4 separate regions of the Homo sapiens genome follow, and regions 1, 2 and 3 are each linked to region 4. The links are contacts of gene promoters, found by promoter capture Hi-C in blood cells and fetal thymus (Javierre and others, 2016). All regions are on one chromosome and are shown on one strand. The core of a region is centred on a gene start or on the middle of the fragment in contact, and the rest is flanking DNA. Distances in the headings are between cores, read along the strand shown. Region 1 overlaps ADSL (adenylosuccinate lyase). Region 2 has its middle 19 kb from the start of CACNA1I. Region 3 overlaps CACNA1I (calcium voltage-gated channel subunit alpha1 I). Region 4 holds the start of TNRC6B-DT (TNRC6B divergent transcript).

Region 1 (2,700 bases), core at 119-2,618, 320 kb after region 4:
GGAGTTCAAGAACATCCTGGGCAACATGGTGAAACCTTGTCTCTACAAAAAAATACAAAAATTAGCCAGGTGTGGTGGTGTGCGCCTGTAGTCTCTGCTACTCAGGGCTGAGGCGGGAGGATAGCTTGAGCCTAGGAGGTCAAGGCTGCAGTGAGCCATATTCATTCCCTTGCCCTCTGGCTTGGGTGACAAAATGAGATCCTGTCTTAAAAAAAATACAAAGATGAATAGATAATCCTCATCTTCAGAGAGCTCAAAACTTAGTGGTGAATACTTGTAAATAGGTCATTATGATACCAAGCAGTACGTGCAAGGACTGAGGGCTAAAAGACTAAAACTGGAGGTAGGAGACCAATAAGGAGGCTACTGCAACGGGCCAAGCAGTAGATGATGAGAGCTTGAGTGAAGGCAGTGGTGAGAGACACAGACCGGGGAGGGAGAGGAGGTTAAGCTCTTGGTGGCTACTTGAAGAGGGCTGGGAAGCAGGAGGAAAGAAGCTGTGGTGATTTTTAGGTTGGATGGAAATGGTGAAACCACCTGAGAGAACACAGGCTGGGCCAGTTTGCGGGAAAGGTTGGTGAGCATGTGGGCATGGTGGTTGAATCATCTGTGTCTAGGCAGAAATTCCTGATAGGCAGTTGAGGAAAACAAGCTCAGTGTTGGAGTAAAAGCTTCATCAAATTAGGTTTCAGTGGTATCCCCTGACATTGGAAAAGGTATTATCTGCTAATATCTTAACATTTTCTTTTGTCTTGTATTTGCTTTCCTCTGGCAGGTGCAGAGATTCTTAGAAGAGGAGGTGTATCCCCTGTTAAAACCATATGAAAGCGTGATGAAGGTGAAAGCAGAATTATGTCTGTAGAGTTGGAAGAGAATTAAACGAAAATCATTGTTAATTGCTGAGGCATGAAAATTGTGTTACTATAATGCCTTATTTTACCTCGAGAATTGTTACCTTAAATTAGTACAGCACTTTCTTCTTCCCATGGTGCTTTCCTGTTTCTCAGTCTCACATTTCTCAACAAGGCAAAAACAAAGAGCGTTGAAGTTGACTCTGCTCTTGCATAGTAAATGTAGTTCATACTTGATCTCTGTTCTTTCAAGGCATATTTTCCAGCTGCCTCAAGTTTAGTCCTTTTCACGTGTTCATTTGCTTGTAAAGTAGCAAGAAATTTCTGGTCCTGTCTTCTAAAAGTGAATTTGATCTAGGTCTAGCAAAATAACCTGGACTCAGTGATTGAGTCAATGGTCAGATACCTTTTATTTCGGTTATTTTTGGCTAGTATAAGTGATGAAGTTTGGAACTACAGTAAATACTTAAAAAAAAAAAAAAAAAGAACCAAACCCTGATGTGACCATCAGGCTGATTGAGCTGAAGTTGTGCCCAAGCTCATTTCATCTTTTGATAAGGCTTATACAGCAGGGAAATGCTAATTGAGTATATTGATTTCATCAGGGCCGCTGACAGTCTTTATTCCTTGTTGCATGGATTTTGTTGTTGAGGCTTGCTCTGTCACCCAGACTAGAGTGCAGTAGCACAATCTTGGCTCACTGCAACCTCCGCCTCTCAGGTTCAAGCGATTCTCCAGCCTCAGCCTCCCAAGTAGCTGGGATTACAGGCGCCTGCCGCCATGCCTGGCTAATTTTTGTATTTTTAGACGGGATGGAGTTTTGCCATGTTGGGCGGGCTGGTCTTGAACTCCTGACCTCAAGTGATCCGCCCATCTCAGCCTCCCAAAGTTCTGGGATTATAGACATGAGCCACCACACCCAGCCTAATCTTGTTTTCTTTTTTTACTTGTTTACAGTGTAAGCAAGTGCCATTGGACAAGAACGTTGTCTGTGTCATTCCTTGTTGTATTTCCAATAGCAAGAGCACATCAGATACTTGGCAACTAGGCAGTCTTCCAGCTTCTGCCACTGCGCCCGACTTCCTTGTTGCATGGATTTATAGCTGATTGAAGCAACTGTAGCCAAAGATTGAGTTAATTACCTACCTGCCAGGAGAGCACTAGTGTTATTTAGCCCATTCTCATCCTACATATTTTTCGGCATAGATGAAAATGAAAGCTTTTGTTTATCAGATTTGCAGATGACACAAAACTGGGAGAATTAACAAGTATGTTTATTTGGTAAAATAAGTTTTCATCTCTAACCTAAATCGGCTGAAATGATGTGTCCTAAACTAGAGGAAAAAGTTAATAAAGATCAATGTAAATAAGTTAATCTTAAACTCAGTATGCACCAGAACTGAGAGAAGACTGTTTTAGGAGGTGTTAATGGTTGTCCAGTGCCCAAAAAGCCACCAGAGGCTTACTGCTCCGCACTCTTGGCATTACATTCAATTTTGGATACCCAGTCTGAGGAATAGAGATGAACTGGAGAGCCAACCTCCAAAAAGATCTTGTGGTGGAGGAATGTTAGGGCTCTTTATCCTATACAGAAGAAAACTCCTCGGCACTTCAAATATTGCCAGGTGCAGGAAGAGTGACTTGATTGTGTGTTGCCCCAAGAGACACACTGAGCTCAATACCCATTACTGAGACTGGCTTGGGGCCAGACATTGGAACCACTGAGATTAGCAACCTACACTCAATCCCCCAGGTCAGGCAGAAGCTGGAAGACTGCCTCGTTAGGAATGTTGTGAGGGAGAGGAGGCTGAATCGGTTCCAGTTTTATTTAAAAGTAGCCAGGAAATCA
Region 2 (2,700 bases), core at 116-2,615, 490 kb before region 4:
TGCCTCTGGGCAAAGCTTGCCTGCTCCCTCAAATGCCCATCCTAAGCCATCAGGGCTTGAAAGACCACAGGGCAGGGCCCAGGCTTACAGTAATGACCTGGCCAACTACAGCGCCTCCAGCCTGAGACCCACTCCCACCACACAGGCCTCATGGTCTCTCCTTGATGGCGACATTGAGGGTGTTTGCCTGGAAGCCTGACTGCCCGGGTGCCGGGACTTTGTCCAGCTGAGGATAAAAGGGATAGTTGCCTGCTCTATTATTCTATCTCCAAGCAGCAGGAGTGGCAGAAAGGAAGAGTGTGAGGGCACACGTGCGTGAGAGATGTACATACACACACACAGCGGGGAGACGGGAGAGCAAGAGACAGACAGGAAGAGTTAGGGAGACAGAGAGACAGAGGGGCATGGAGAGAGCCAGAGAAAGGGTAAGACAGAGAAACGCCAAGGAGGAAGGGAGCCAGGCAAGGGAAACAGGAAGCAGGAGAGAGACGCCCAAAGAGACAGAGACAGAGGTGGACAGAAGCCAGCAGGGGCAGAGGGTCCCCACCCCCTGCACCTCAAGGTGATTTTTCCTCTTTTCATCGTCCACTCTCCTCTCTGGCTCCGTCGCTCCTAAGCTGGGCTTTCCGGTCCCTCTTCCACCTCTTCCCCAGTGTCATTTTCTTTTCTTTCTTTCTTTCTTTTTTTTTTTTTTTTGAGATAGTCTTGCTCTGTCGCCCAGGCTAGAGTGCAATGGCATGATCTCAGCTTACTGCAACCTAGGTTGCCGCCTCCTGGGTTCAAGAGATTCTCCTGCCTCAGCCTCCCGAGTAGCTGGGATTACAGGCGCCTGCCACCCTGCCTGACTAATTTTTGTATTTTTAGTAGAGGCGGGGTTTCACCAAGCTGGCCAGGCTGGTCTCGAACTCCTGACCTCAGATGATCCACCTGCCTCAGCCTCCCAAAGTGCTGGGATTACAGGGGTGAGCCACTGCGCCCAGACCCCCATGTCTTTTTTAACCTGATGCTCTCCGGGCCTTTGCTCCTGCTGTCCCTTGGCTTGAGATGCCCTTCCTCCAATACTTGGCTAGGAAAACTCAGATCTGCCCACTGCCTGTTGTCCCTTCTAGGCCTTCACTGTCTCTCCCTTTGTGGAGCCTTCTTTGGCCCTCCTGGTCTGACCCCAGAAAATATCGTTTCCTCCTGGGGGCTCCCAGCTCCTTTCTTCCGAGCTTAAATCCAGGTTGTCCAGATGTGGCTTCTCCCCACAGGGCTGGGGTTCATCTGTTTCTGTATACCTGACACGTGGCACTTAGTAGGTGGTCAATAAACATCACTGAGTGATGGCCTGGCGTGTAACTGTTGTCACACCAGCTCTCTTGAACTCAATTTCTTTCTTTTTTCCTTTTTTGACATGGAGTCTCGCTCTATTGCCCAGGCTGGAGTATAGTGGCGCGATCTTGGCTCACTGCAAACTCTGCCTCCTGGGCTCAAGCAATTCTCCTGCCTCAGCCTCCCGAGTAGCTAGGATTACAGGCGCATGCTGCCACGCCCGGCTAATTTCTGTATTGTTAGTAGAGACTGGATTCTCTGAGCCCTGTCCAGGAAGCTCCTCAGGCATCAGCTACCTGTTTTGGTTGAGAGTCAGGGACCTCCGACCTGGCAGGAACTTGAGGTTCCTGGGGTCTGTCCCCAGCTATGCTCTGCCCCCACTCCAGGCTTTTGTCCTGGGCAGATAGATAGGCTTTTGTCCTGGGCAGAGATAGATTCTCTCTCTCTCTCTCTCACACACACACACATGCGCACACACATGCACTCTGGCATAGAATCCTGTTTATGCTACTTATTAGCTGTGTGACTCTGGGCAATTTACTTAATTTCTCCGGATTCTGGTTCTCCCGAGTGTAAGTGGAGCTGCATGATCCCTGTCACCTAGGACTGCTGGGGGTTAAGTGGGCTGATAGAAGAAGTGGACACCTGCAGCCGGGCCCAGGGGCTCCCTGCTTCTCAGCTACATAAGCCAGCTCCACCCCCACACTTCCTGCCCAGATTCCTAGGGATGCAGCAATCTTGGGGGGCTGCCAGTGTTCTCCTGGACCCCTCTGGCTTTGACCTTTTGCTTCTGCTGGCTTAGTGCAGTTGGGGATGGACTGGGTGACATGCCCAGGGCTGTTCTTGTTCATGTCAGCACTGAGGGGGAGCTCGGCTCCTTTCTTGATATCCACACACTGAGTACCCCTGTGGGTCCAGCAGATGTTCCTGGGGACTTGGCAGGGGAGGGACACTGACACTGCAGCCATGCAAACCACTTCAAATCGAAGTCCCCCCGCTTCTGGGGGATCCCCCCAGGTGCGTCCCCCTCTGCGTGTCCCTGGTCTCCTCCATCTTGCAATCTCTTCTCTCCTCTCCCTTCCCTCTCCACTCTTTTCTCTCTGGACCTTCTGATTCTTCTCTCTTTATGTTGCAGAACAATCCAGCCACTACCTTCCAGACTGGGCTCTGGGTCCATCTTGGCCTCTTCAAACCCATCAAGGTGCCCACAGGTGCTGGGGTTCAGCCTGCCCCATCACATATGGGAAGCCCAGCGTCTGGCCCATCCTCCCTAGGGTCTCATTCCAAATCTCCTCCCTGTTTTACCCACAGTCAGCACTTCCAGAATTTTCCATCTCGTAATGTCCTCCAGCCATGGCACAGGCCTGGTACGCAGAGGTGATTAACAGA
Region 3 (2,700 bases), core at 70-2,569, 440 kb before region 4:
TGGTTCTGCCACTTATCTGCTGTGTGACCTGTGGGGCAAGTTGCTTAACCTCTCTGAGTCTCTGTTTCCTCATCTGTAAAATGGGACTACCCATGGGGTCCTTGGGAGAATTAGGAGAGAGAATGGGGGTCAAGTGTGTAGCCAGTGCTTGGTAATTATTAGGGAGAATATGGGACGGCCCCTCACCCCACCCCCACCTGGGGCTCTTCTATCTGTTCCCAGGCTTAGGGAACAGATAGAACGGGCTGTATGACCTTGGGCAAACTCATTCCCGTCTCTGGGCCACAGTCTCCTCATCTATGAAATGACTGCATTGGACTGGGATCACTGAGGTTCTCCTCCTGCCCAGGAGGAGTTTCCGGGTGTTTCCCAGGCCCCTTGCATCCATGTGGTGTCCCCACCTCACACTGTGGCTGCAACCCCTGGGCCCTGCTCTGCAACCTCACCCTGTCCCTTGCTTCCCTCCTCCTGCCCCTGCAGGTCTTTGATGACTTCATCTTTATCTTCTTTGCCATGGAGATGGTGCTCAAGATGGTGGCCCTGGGGATTTTTGGCAAGAAGTGCTACCTCGGGGACACATGGAACCGCCTGGATTTCTTCATCGTCATGGCAGGGTAGGTAGCGCCCGCCAGGCAGGTCCTAGCCTCTGGTGCACACCAGGCATAATTGAGAGAATCCAGGGCTTCTTGCTGATGGCGATGAAGGGGAATCACGGTGATGCGTGGGACCCTCCTGGACCCCTGGGCTGGGAGGAATGATGGACAGACAGACATTCTTTCCTCCCTTCCTAAGTTGTGCGTCCTCCAGCACTGCCAGCGGATACTGGGTGAGTTTATGCTAATTAATGATACGACCTTGAGAGAGCCACTGACGCTCTCTAAGCTTTCATTTCCTCATCTGAAAAGGGGAATAATAATAGTAGCTGCGTCAAAATGAGCACCCAATAAATGCTAGCTGTTAGGATTGCTATCCTGGATCTCTCATCACGCCAGAGACCGAGCACAGACTCAAGCACTGTCTGACTCCAGACTGTGGTTATTTCTACCGAGACACAAGCTGCCGTCAGGGACAGGCCTGGTTACAGCTGAGCCCATCTGGAGCGTCTGTGACCCTGCTCTGGGTCTTGTGCCTGCTTTCCTGGGTCAAACCCATCCATGCATTCATCCATCAACCAGGGACTGAACAACTTGCTCCCCAGTGTTGGCGCCGCCCTAGCTGCTGGGGGCAAGGAGGAGAGCAAGCCAGACACAGGCCTTGTCCTTCCTACTCCTGTCTCGGGGAGGCACCCACCTGCTACGCCAGTGGGCGTGCCTTCACACACGGGGACCAGGGCGCTGGGCAAAGCATGTGGTTTGCTGAGAGCATTTAACACAGCAGCCCGACTGAGCCAAGCTGGGGACTTGGGGGCTTGAGGGCTTCCTGAGGAGGTGACACGGGAGAGCTGAAGGATGAGGAGACATTAACCATGCCCAAGAGTGGGTCATTATTAGGGCAGAGGAGAGAGAAAAAGGCTGGAGGCTGTACGTGTGTGTGTGAGAGAGGGTGTGTGAGTGTGTGTGTCAGTGTATGTGTGTATGTGTGTGACCTCGTGTGTAGAATGCTATTGAGGAGGTGTGACCTTTTTGATTCAGTAGACGCATGGCTGAGACGGACAGTCAGGGTGTGAGAATCCCATCAGGTATCTGCTAAATTCCACAGATGTGTTCTGAAGTGAGGTGATTCGTTTCACTAGGGTTTTAAAAAAGTTACACCTCTTCTAAGCTTGCTTGCTCTCTCGCTTTCTCTCCTTCCTTCCTTCCCTCCCTCCCTCCCTCCCTCCTTCCTTCCTTCCTTCCTTCTCTCTCTTTCTTTCACCCTCCCTCCCTCCCTCCCTCCCTCCTTCCTTCCTTCCTGCCTTCCTTCCTTCCTTCCTTCTCTCTCTCTTTCTTTCACCCTCCCTCCCTTCCTTCCTTCCTTCCTTCCCTCCTTCCTTCCTTCCCTCCTTCCTTCCTTCTCTCTCTCTTTCTTTCGCCCTCCCTCCCTCCCTCCCTTCCTTCCTTCCTTCTTTTTTTGAGATGGGGTCTCACTCTGTACCTAGGTTGGAGTGTGGTGATGCAGTCACCACACACTGCAGCCTTGACTTCCTAGGCTCAAAGGATCCTCCCACCTCAGCCTCCTGAGTAGCTGGGACTGCAGGCATGTGCTACCAACCCTGGCTAATTTTTCTTTTCTTTTCTATAGAGACAGGGTCTCACTATGTTGCCCAGGCTGGTCTTGAACTCCTGGGTTCAAGCTTTCCTCCCACCTCAGCCTCCCAAAGTGCTGGGATTACAGGTGTGAGCCACCGCACCTGGCCTCTAAGCATCTTCTCTCAATCACTGTATTCAGTTTTACAAACACATTGTCAACAGTCACTGAGACCTGTACGGAAGCTACTCTGGTTTCCTGTGGTTTCCTGAGCACTGTATCCTCCTCTTAGTCACGTTCTTCGTTTTCATTCTTATTCTGGTTTGGCTGGAGAACATCTTTAAGTAGTTTTTTTTTAAAAGAAAAGGTGTTTGGATAGTGTCATTTTTCAATCTTGCCTGTCCAAACATATATTCCTTTGATCTTTGAGTGTGGACCGTTATTTGTGCTATTGTAGAGTCAGAACACTGCACACATCCTGCCATTCAAACCTACACTATAGTATTGCAGGTGAGTCCAGTACAGATCTGGTTC
Region 4 (2,703 bases), core at 82-2,581:
GTGAAACAAGGGCGGTGATCCCACTGAAGCTACAGGGGATGGGGATTTGGGACGGTAAAATGTTAATTACCCAAGATGGAATGTGGGCTAGAGTCCAGCGTTGTGCTCCTGGAGATCATTTCGGTCGCAAAAGCTCACTGGCAATGGGTCCTAAGCGTCCTGCCCTCCTCTGGCTGAAATGTTGGATTCACTTCGATGAATGCTGCTATAGGGAAAGAACCCAGTGGCCACCAGCCAGGAGCACACGTCTTGCTCAGCATCAACTATCCTGGAAGATTTCCAGGAGCTGAAGGGCTGTTCTCTTTGCATGCAATAAATTATTCATTTCTAAGACGATTTATTCTGTCTCTCTCTTTAGACTTGATTTCTCCTAGTTTTCCAGCTCTTGAGGACTCTCTCCAAAGAATGAGTTGTAGATGGTTGGTCAGGGGTTGCGAGTGGTGCCTAGGCTTCGCATAAAAGGAGGCAGAAATGTCTACCTTAAAGGGGAGAGGAATGGGTCCTGGGGAGGAAGATGTGGTGGAGGCAATGACAACCTTTCCATAGTAAGTCCCCAACAAAGTCACTTCTAGAAACTGACTGAAGACTTTGAGTTCCAAATGAAACGTTTTTAAGATGCTAGGTTGGCTGACAAGTACATCGTCTAAGGTGGAGGCACTAAAGCATAATAAAAAGAGTGAAGTCTCTGCAGTTTGACCCAGGACCAGATGCCAGGCCCACCAACGACTCTGTATCTGGATGACCTTGGGCAAGTTTTCTAAGCTCTCGCCAGCCTTAATTTCCCATCTATAAAAACTGGATACTGCATTACTCCCAGGTTTAACCAGATAATGTTTGTGAAGAAAGCAGCCCAATACTTGGCACAAAATAGGCAAGGGAGTCACTATTATCGTCAACTACTGGCCAAACAACCAGAGTTGACCCCAAATCCCCAGTAAACAATTAACCGTAGCAGAGCGAATCCGGATCTGACGCACCTATTTGCCCAATAAGGTGCCAGGAAATAACACAGTGGAGTCAAACCAATGGTATTAGCCCTTGTTGATGGACGGGCTTTCTTGCTGTTCCACCAATAGCTTGAAGATTTGACTGGGGAGTGACATCCTGACAGTCCAATGACGCACAACCAGCCCACACTCAGCACTTCGGAGGGGATAAATCAAGGAGCCGGCACGTATGGATTCCGTTATAGGGCAGTACTGGTTGGAGAGAGGAGCTTAGGGAAACAGCGCCGAGGCAAGGCACTAATGAGCTAAAAATAAAGAAAAAAGACGATGGTTGCGCCAAGCGACCTCGGCCGCCATCATGCTCTAATTTCCCCTGAGTCTCTCTGGGTCCTCGACCGAGGAAGCGGCCTCTGGGATGCTGAGGGGGTGTGTCCCCACATGATTGGCTCAGGCAGCTCAGCCAATCCTAGCTCGTTAAACGGGAAGCACTTAACCAATGAGGGGCGAAGGCAGCAACGAGGAATTGGAGGGGCGGAACGACAGCTTGACGGGCACAAAAGCCAGCCAGTGAGAGCCGGAAGCATCCTCCCTGCGGCCAATGGAGTGGGGCTCTGGGCGGGCCCCCGAGTGTTTGTGTTGTGGTTTTGGGGGAGGGATGCGGAGGGGAAAGTTTGTTTATTTTGTTTTTAGTTTTTGGGGTCCCCGTGCTGCTGCAAGGCGAAACGGGAGGGAGTGACCCCTGCGCCCCTCAGTCCCCCCTACGACGTCGCCTCCATAGTCTGCGGAGAAGCGGAGACTGCGCGCCTCGCCTCACAGCGAAACGCCGCGCACTCGGAGCCGGCACGGCTCGGCGGTGAGTGAGGTGCGGCGGCCGCGCCGTCCTTCCCCTCCCCCGCGCCCCGCCGGGACGGAGCGGGGCGGCCGGGGGTCGGCGAGGGCGCCCCCGGGGGCGCGCGGCGCGGCCCGGGGCGGTGAGCGGAGGCGCGGCGTGTGCGTGTCCTCGCGAGGGAGCGCGCGTGGGGCGGGGAGCGGGCCGGGGAGGGGGCGTGAGCGCGCGCGGGGCTGGTGCGGCCGGCGGCGCTGAGCGCGCGCTCCGCGGGAGCGGGCGCCGCCGAGATTTGAGTCGAGGGGCGGGGAGGGACTCGGGGCGACGTCCGGCGCGCGGGCCGGGGCGCCCCGAACGGCCGGGCAGGCACTGGCGGGCGCGCGCGCGGCTCCGGGCGTCACGCGCCAGCAGGTGTGAGCTGGGGGAGGGCTTCCGGGTGGGCTGGCCCGGCCGTCGAGTTCGCTTCCCGTCTCCGGGGGGCCTCGGCGCGGGGACACCTTCCCGGCCCGCGGAGGCGCGTCCGCCCCTGGCTGGCGGTGGCAGAGGGAGGCGTCAGGCCTCGGATCCTCGGGTCCCTGCGCAGCGTCCCGGCCTGTGTGCAGGACCTGCGTGACAAGGTGAATGCGTTCCACACCCCTCGCCAGGGCCCTGCGTGTGCGGCCACTTGGGGAGGCGGCTCAGACTCTGGACAAGGAAACGAGGGGCACGGAGAGTGTTTTTACACCTTCCCGTGGTCCGGTGCCCTTCAGTTCCAGACTACCGGTTTATTCGGCTGTAGAGGCTGGACATCCGATCCAGCGAGACACGCTGTAGTGGTTAAAGACGTCCAGTAACGGTCACCTCTAGTCAAGCGCCTTAAGGACCAGCTTATTCTGAATTCTTTGGAATTCAGGTTACCAGCCTGGGACTTTAAGTTCGTGCTTTCTCATG

The links. The method cuts DNA at HindIII sites, captures the fragments that hold promoters and counts their contacts. A CHiCAGO score of 5 or more calls a contact.
Region 1: a contact is called between a fragment that was not itself captured here and the fragment with the promoter of TNRC6B-DT in region 4, in 7 of 17 cell types (endothelial precursors, naive CD8 T cells, total CD4 T cells and 4 more). The highest score is 8.0, in endothelial precursors.
Region 2: a fragment that was not itself captured here is called in contact with the fragment with the promoter of TNRC6B-DT in region 4 in 14 of 17 cell types (megakaryocytes, M0 macrophages, activated CD4 T cells and 11 more); the score reaches 14.2 in megakaryocytes.
Region 3: a fragment that was not itself captured here is called in contact with the fragment with the promoter of TNRC6B-DT in region 4 in 4 of 17 cell types (erythroblasts, M1 macrophages, megakaryocytes and 1 more); the score reaches 6.8 in erythroblasts.

The regions. Positions count from the first base shown.
Region 1 is chr22:40,365,661-40,368,360 of GRCh38, forward strand. It overlaps ADSL (adenylosuccinate lyase), which reads left to right. Exons shown (of 13, transcript NM_000026.4): 13 at 776-2,700. The coding sequence ends at 862. Among named protein-coding and RNA genes, the nearest start is that of SGSM3, 3.6 kb to the right of the region's middle. The HindIII fragment of the contact is 1,399 bases long and covers 670-2,068 here.
Region 2 is chr22:39,550,506-39,553,205 of GRCh38, forward strand. No RefSeq gene overlaps it. Among named protein-coding and RNA genes, the nearest start is that of CACNA1I, 19 kb to the right of the region's middle. The HindIII fragment of the contact is 2,704 bases long and covers 14-2,700 here.
Region 3 is chr22:39,600,040-39,602,739 of GRCh38, forward strand. CACNA1I (calcium voltage-gated channel subunit alpha1 I) reads left to right here. Exons shown (of 37, transcript NM_021096.4): 3 at 481-614. Among named protein-coding and RNA genes, the nearest start is that of CACNA1I, 31 kb to the left of the region's middle. The HindIII fragment of the contact is 879 bases long and covers 881-1,759 here.
Region 4 is chr22:40,043,199-40,045,901 of GRCh38, forward strand. It overlaps TNRC6B-DT (TNRC6B divergent transcript), which reads right to left and starts at 1,332. Exons shown (of 1, transcript NR_163486.1): 1 at 1-1,332. FAM83F (family with sequence similarity 83 member F) reads left to right here. Exons shown (of 5, transcript NM_138435.4): 5 at 1-336. It also overlaps a transcript of TNRC6B not described here. RefSeq lists enhancers at 327-974, 1,056-1,355, 1,666-1,785 and silencers at 2,086-2,305, 2,316-2,385. The HindIII fragment of the contact is 12,286 bases long and covers 1-2,703 here.